2 separate regions of the Homo sapiens genome follow, and region 2 is linked to region 1. Evidence: promoter capture Hi-C in human tissues and cell types (Jung and others, 2019). All regions are on one chromosome and are shown on one strand. The core of a region is centred on a gene start or on the middle of the fragment in contact, and the rest is flanking DNA. Distances in the headings are between cores, read along the strand shown. Region 1 holds the start of PIGH (phosphatidylinositol glycan anchor biosynthesis class H). Region 2 overlaps CCDC196 (coiled-coil domain containing 196).

Region 1 (3,622 bases), core at 1,123-3,622:
ACTAAAAATGAAACACTGATTCTATCCGTGGAGCCCAAGTTAAGAACTCCAGGACTACAGGCTTCCCCAAAACATTAACAGTACTTATCTCTGAGTGATGGAAATATGGGTGGTTTACATTTTTTTCTTTTCTGTATTTTTCAAATTTTCCACAATAAGCAAATATCACTTTTATAATTATAAAACACATGATATATGCAATAGTAAAAGGGGTGATATGGTTCGGCTCTCTGTGCCTACCCAAATCTCATGTCAAATTGTAATCTCCACTTGTTAGGGGAGGGACCCAGTGGGAGGTGATTGGATCATGGGGACGGATTTCCCCCATGCTGGTCTCGTGATGCTGAGTGAGTTCTCTCACGAGATCTGACGGTTTAAAAATGTGGCACTTCCCCACTCCCCTCCTGCTGCCATGTAAGACATGCCTGGCTTCCCCTTTGCCTTCCACCATTATTGTAAGTTTCCTGAGGCCTTGCCAGCCATGTGGAACTGTGAGTCAATAAACCTCTTTTCTTTATAAATTACCGAGTCTCAGGTAGTTCTTTATAGCAGTGTGAAAACGGACTAATAAAAGGAGTGTATTAATTGTCAGATTCGGGGCACAGAAATAAAACTAGAAAAATAAAGAAGTGCTTGAAGAAATCCTTTAGGAAAAAAGAAAGGGAAATAAAATTCTGAATGAAGATGAAGAAACGGAACCTTTCATCAGAGAGACTTAAAGCTGGTGAGACCTTTATGCCATGGATCTTTTTTTTTTTTTAAATGAATATAGACACAGTCTTGCTCTGTTGCCCAGGCTGGTCTTGAACTCCTAAGTTCAAGTGATTCTCCTGCCTCAGCCACCCGAACAGCTGGGATTACAGGCATGCTCCACCATGCCCAGGTAATTTTTTTGTATTTTTAGTAGAGATGGTTTCACCATGTTGGCCAGGCTGATCTTGAACTCCTGACCCAAGTGATCTGCCCTCCTCAGCCTCCCAAAGTGCTGAGATTACAGGCATGTGCCACCATGCCCAGCCCATCACAAGTGTTTTGACAGTCCACATAGCCACTCCTGGGCCACATCAGAAGTAAAAATGGAACTCATAGGCCACTATTACTCATGAGTTTAGTAATTTTATTATCCATTTCTTCTGCATCTCCCGCTCCTGCTTAATTCCCAGCCAGGTCTTGCCTGTCTACCACGGTCCAAGCAGTCATTTGGGAGACAGAACTCCCAGGCAGTGAAATCCAAACTCCTTACCAGACCCTACAAGACCCTCTTGGATCTGACCCCTACCTGCCTCCCCAGCTTCCAACTGTTTTCCCCACACACCAACCTTTCTCGCCTTTTGATTATTTCATTAAGCCAAGCTTGTTCCAACTTCGAGGGGTTTGCCTTTCCTGGTCTTTCTTTCTGGCAAATTCCTCCTCCAGAGCTCCTTCAGTCCTGTCTGGCTCGTCACCCTTGTAACTCAGTGTCCTCTTACTTAGAGACTTCGCCTGACTGCCCTATGTAAAGTCCTCAGTCCATCCCTGCCAGTCAGCATAGTATTGCCAACGATACTCTCTTATTTCCATATTGTCTCCTACTAGAAAGGAAGCTGCCCGAGGGCAGAGACTGTCATCAACATCGTTCACTGCTGCATCCTCAAGCACCTCAAACTACCCGGCACAGGAAAAGAGTAAGTGAAATGAATACCCGTGGGCTCTCCTTGCGGCTCACTCTGGCTTAGAGAAATCGGCTTGCCAAGCAAAAGCATGATTAAAACTGTGGGTTTGGGCTGGGTGCGGTGGCTCACGCCTGTAATCCCAGCACTTCGGGAGGCCGAGGCGGGCGAATCACCTGAGGTCAGGAGTTTGAGACCAACCTGGCCAACATGGTGAAACCTGTCTCTACTAAAAATACAAAAATCAGCAGGGCGTGGTGGCGCGCGCCTGTAATCCCAGCTACTCAGGAGGCTTAGGCAGGAGAATCGCTTGAACCCGGGGGAAGCAGGTTGCAGTGAGCCGACGTCGCGCCATTCCGTCTCAAAACAAAAACAAACTGTGGGTTTGTTTTGAGACAGGGTCTTGCTCTCTCGCACAGGCTAGAGAGCAGGGGCATGATCTCCGCTCACTGCAACCTCGACCTCCCAGGCTCAAGCGATCCTCCCGCCTTGGCCTCCCAGTGCTGGACTACAGGCCTGAGTCAACGCGCCCGGTCTAAAAACGATTTTAATCTTTCCACTTAACTATTGCCCCGACGAGGTTTTTTCGAAGACAGTCAAGGCCGGCCCGGAAGAACGCACAACCATCAGCCCCCAGCAGAGCTCTCGGCGCGCAACTGAGGCTGCGCAGGCTTAGGGCGGGGCGTGGTGACGCGGCTGCCGGAAGCGGGTCTGGAGCGGGCGAGACGGCCAGGGCCGGCGAGCGCAGTGCAGCGCCGCGCGGTGCGGGCGGCCGAGTGGGGGCGTCATGGAGGATGAGCGGAGCTTTTCGGATATCTGCGGCGGCCGCCTGGCGCTGCAGCGCCGCTACTACTCCCCGTCCTGCCGGGAATTCTGCCTCAGCTGCCCTCGGCTCTCGCTGCGTTCGCTCACCGCTGTCACCTGCACGGTGTGGCTGGCGGCCTACGGACTCTTCACCCTCTGCGAGGTAATGGCAAGTCGGCCCCTCCCCGCGCTCGAAGGAGGGGGTTCGGCTTTGGGAGGGTCTTTGGGGTCTTTGGTCGAGCCCGGACCTCTGGTCGGCCCCTCCTACAGTGATAGGACAGGAGGGCGGGAACTCACGGGTTCTGGGGACGATATTCCGCTGCTGGACAGCTCTTTAAATGACGTTTAGTGAAATGTGTGCTCCTGGATAGTACATTCCCCTTCCGTGGCTGTGCTCTGCTCCGTGGGTTCACTCAGCATACATCTAGTTCTTGCGCGACGGCCTAAAACTTTAACTGCCATGTGTTCTATGTAGTATAGGCGCGCAGTAATTTAATTCCAAGAGTTCAAGGAACTACTAAGTGGGTCTTCCTCGTCCATCCCTTCTGCTCCTCAAAGTAGTACTGCTAACAATACTTTACGTAGACTTCCACAAACTGTCTTTGCCTCCACAAGTGTGTGTGTTTATCTGTGTGTATAGATAGAGTGTTATAGTTCTTCCTAATCTCTGTTTTTCAAGGGAGTTTTTTAACCCTCCCTCCTCCCAAACCCTTCCCCAATTTCAAGTACTTTCTAAAGGTTTATGAAATTTTGGACGTGTGTGATAGCTGTGCTCAATTTCCAGATTCATTCCTGTTTTCTCTGAGCCTCAATTTTCTACATCTCTAAAATAGAATTCATGCCTGCCATACCAGCTTCATGATATTGTGAGGGTTAAATGCAGTAACTTTGTGACAGCTCTCAAATAAAAAGAATTATCCTAATTTTCAGGATAAGTTCTAGTTTCATATGTAGTGCCTGAATTGAATGTATTATCCCAGAAGTGATCTAATCAGAGCTAAGTACAGCAGGGCTATTTATTTTTGTAACTTGGATATTGTTTCCATTACTGCATCCATTCGCTTTTTTGCTGTCAAAGCGTGTTTCAGAGCATGGTAATTTAGCATAGAAATATGCAGAATTAAGACTGCCCTAATTGCAGGAAACTATCTAACTATCTAAACCGTATG
Region 2 (3,622 bases), core at 449-2,948, 1.1 Mb after region 1:
TGAAATTGACTGGTTGCAGACCAAGCCTCCCTTTCCAGCACGGGACCTTGTTCTCTTCCCATTTCCTAATATTTGTTGACTAAATACAGAACATATGAATCAACAGGGACTTTGAATTGGTAGCAATGCAGGCTCCTTCCAAGGTGCCAGAGGGACCAATAGAGATTTTACTTGGCGTGCAACAGGTTACAGAAGCCTCTACCAATAAAAGGAGAGACACCACCTAAGGTGGCCACTGTTCACATAAACAACACTAAAACTAGATTTTCTGCCTGGATCTACGAGTGTAAGGCAAAATGTTATGTGTTGTCGCTTCCCCTCTTTGATTATTGCAATTCTAGACTAAAGATGAAAGTATCAGGCTGTTGTTGGCCTTATTTCATTTAGGAAGTGTGACAGACATTACTAATCACTTTCTGGCAATGCAAAAAGGCAACTTTTTGGGATAGAATGTTAGCTGATATCCTCTGCATGGCTAGAAAGTCAAGATAAAATAAATGAGATAAGTTACAAAAATAGTCTACCCAAAGTTACGATTTGTAAATGTATTGCTGGTGGGACAGGTTTTTCCTCAATTGACCTTGAAATTGAAAAGTATTGCCCATATGTGGTTAAGGTTATCAGAGATTTTATTCTCAGAGGAATATAATCAGAATATTATGAGCACAAATAAAACTATAATAATGATGTTTCAATCCCAAGTACTTTTTGATTACTAGTTCAGTTTACTATAACTTGATTTGGAGATAGGAATACCCTAAATATAGACATATTCCCACCAAATTGTAAGGTAATAGCCCTCTCTGTAATTTAATATTGGGTGTATCAGTTAATCTCTTGGGAGTTTGAGTAGCTTGAATAAGTCTCTGACCTTTTGAATAAGTTGACCATATAAATTTGTCTGTACTCACAAAACTGAGATCCATTTCCTGGATTCACTGAAATGCAGACACTCATGAGGAGTCACCCAATCTAACTGATAACTTTATACTGCCCTTATGAAAGTCAGAGTCCAATATAAAGTCCTAAAGACAAAGTAGGATAACAGGCTATCCCAGTTTTGTGTTTTGAAAAAATTGAAAGGTTTGGAACATTTGAAGGAAAGATGTTAAGCCTGACTGGTAATGAACATAAAATGTAAATACTTTGGCAATGGCAAATAATTCACTTTTTAAGAAGTTACAACCTCAGCTACCAAGTAAACTACTTTATTCCATGCCTTAGTTAACAACAAACAAGAAAAAAAAAAAAAAGGAGGGAGGTCATATACGAATTCAAACTCACTGTAGTGGTTAAAAAAAAAAACAAACCCATAATTTTAAAACATTCAAATGATGCTCTTTTAATTTAATTTTAAAATTGGGAATCTAAAGCCCTGAGGTTAAATGACTAGTTCAAGGTAATCAGTAGTACATTCAGATTTTATATTTTCATCTTTTGTTCTCATTGCTCTGTCTAATCCAATTGACTTGGAAAATCTCTCAGGACTGCCAGAATCTCCCAGGGACTAAATAAGTACAGTGATGGCTTTCTTGAAACAATGTAAATTACATACTCCACTAACTCAGTTGGTAGAATATTAAACTAATCACCTCAGGGTTTTAGAGGCCATTATTTTTGTGGTTAGGAGAGGAAAGATACAATTTAGATTGGAATATGAACTGGCAGTATTAATACCTAGGCTCTGGTAACCAGCCCTGGCCCCAATTAACTGTAGGAATTTAGACACCTTTTCAATGTATCTGAACTCCAGTATCCTTTTTTGGAAAGTGAAGGAAACTTTATAGTTATTTAAAGTTCCTTCTAATGCCAAAATTCTGTGATTTCTTGTAAACCGTTTCCAGTGCAAAAGTACATTTAAAAATTCATATTTAAAATGCATCTTTAAAGATTTAAATTGACATTGAGAAAAAGAAGATTTTGAATTGGCTGGCTCACTTTGCTTATTACCAGAAAGTATGAGGGATTCCTACAGATTATGAAGTGTTTTGTGACAAATCAACTCTTCTATACTGACATGAGATAGGAAATTAATGACAACTTAGAGTGAAAGAAAATATCTGAAGATCTCAGGAACTATGATATAATCCCGTGGTAATTAACACAAGGCAAGACATCGAGAGACCTGGGACTTGGAAATTAACTTTCTGTGGCCTTCTACATATCATTTACTGAGCCTCTTTAAAATGCTAGGCACTGTGTTAAGCAGTCAAAATGAAAAGATAGCAAGATAGAATCCTGGCCCTCAAAGAGCTCACCACCTGATGAGGAAGGTAGCTGGATAAACCAATAATTGCGATAGAGTTCAATTAGTGCTGTGACAGAAGTAAGAGAGCCTAGCAACAAGTCTCAAACCTGATTGCCCATTAGAATTTCTTGAGAAGCTTTTAAAAAATACGGATGCTTTTGCCCTATCGCTCAGTTACCATAATTTAAATTATCAGGGGCGGGGCCCAGTAGAATGCTATTTTTCAAAGCTCTTAAGGGGATTCCAATACACAGCTAGGATTGAGTATCAGTGGGATAGAAGGGCAGCACATTCAGTCCTTAAGACAAACAGGCAATGGTCATAGCTAAAGGAGAGAAGTATCCTTCCACTTTGTGCATGGACCTAATAGAACTAATGATACATGGGGAGAACTGTAAATATTAATAGTAATGTGGAGCTCAATGTGGGATGTATGAGAAAAGGGGGACATAGTGAAAGATGAGACAGAGAAGGTAGGCAGGAGGCATATCATTTATGGTCTGTGAAGGACCTTGGACTTCAGCGAGAAACCAGTAGGGGAATGACATGATCTCATTTATCTTTTATAAAAGATAGCTTCAGTGGTACTGTGGAAGATGAATTAGAGGAACTGGAAGCAGGGGAAACCAATTAAGAGGCTATGGTAATCCAGGCAGGAAGGAGGGCCTGGGGAAAAAAACAAAAACAAAAACAAAACCACAGTGGTACTAGGAAAGTGGATGATATTCAAGGAATAGATAACAAGGAGGCAGAATCAACAGGTCATTTTGATGTTTTTGGTGAGAGAGTAAAAGAAGTCTGTGGTATATAATTTTACTTATTTTATACCTACTTTTTCTCATTTCCCACTGTTGGATCTGTCCACAATTACATACTTCAGAAGTGGAGAGAAGCTCCTTTTTATGGACTTAGTAAAAACATATTGTATAATGTGGTTGAAATGTGGTCATTTCAAATCCAAAAGCTATCAAAATAATCAGAGGTTGTTTACAATCCCTAAATGACTACATTCCATACATGTTTAAGGCCAGACATCCAACATTTCCACCCAGATTGGTCGGGGGAGAGAGGGAAAACAGCACTAAAACAAAGGTGCGAGAGATTTTAATTAACACAAATGGCTGTGCCTAGTCTTTAAATCTGTCCAAAGCAAATGGAGCGAAAGCCTGCTAATTCTTCAGTGCTTCATCTGGCAATGACCTCAGAAAAAAGAGTCTCCCTCCTGTATTATCAAGCTGACTTCCTTTAGTTCCTTGTTGTTCTGTGTAGATCTTTGTTCCCAGAATTCTCTAGACAGGAAAAAACAGAGGAAAAAGGACAGCTAAAATATTGAGTACCCTAGCACCCACTCTGCAAATCCCCTAAAATATTAAA

What was found. The method cuts DNA at HindIII sites, captures the fragments that hold promoters and counts their contacts. A contact is called where the count stands out against the background at its distance.
Region 2: a contact is called between a fragment that was not itself captured here and the fragment with the promoter of PIGH in region 1, in 1 of the 25 tissues and cell types used here (lymphoblastoid cells).

What each region holds. Positions count from the first base shown.
Region 1 is chr14:67,599,018-67,602,639 of GRCh38, reverse strand. It overlaps PIGH (phosphatidylinositol glycan anchor biosynthesis class H), which reads left to right and starts at 2,372. Exons shown (of 4, transcript NM_004569.5): 1 at 2,372-2,616. The coding sequence starts at 2,437. It also overlaps a transcript of GPHN not described here. RefSeq lists an enhancer at 2,375-2,694. The HindIII fragment of the contact is 9,090 bases long and covers 1-3,622 here.
Region 2 is chr14:66,498,268-66,501,889 of GRCh38, reverse strand. It overlaps CCDC196 (coiled-coil domain containing 196), which reads right to left. Exons shown (of 10, transcript NM_001351576.1): 10 at 3,337-3,537. The coding sequence ends at 3,418. Among named protein-coding and RNA genes, the nearest start is that of GPHN, 8.1 kb to the left of the region's middle. The HindIII fragment of the contact is 5,867 bases long and covers 1-3,622 here.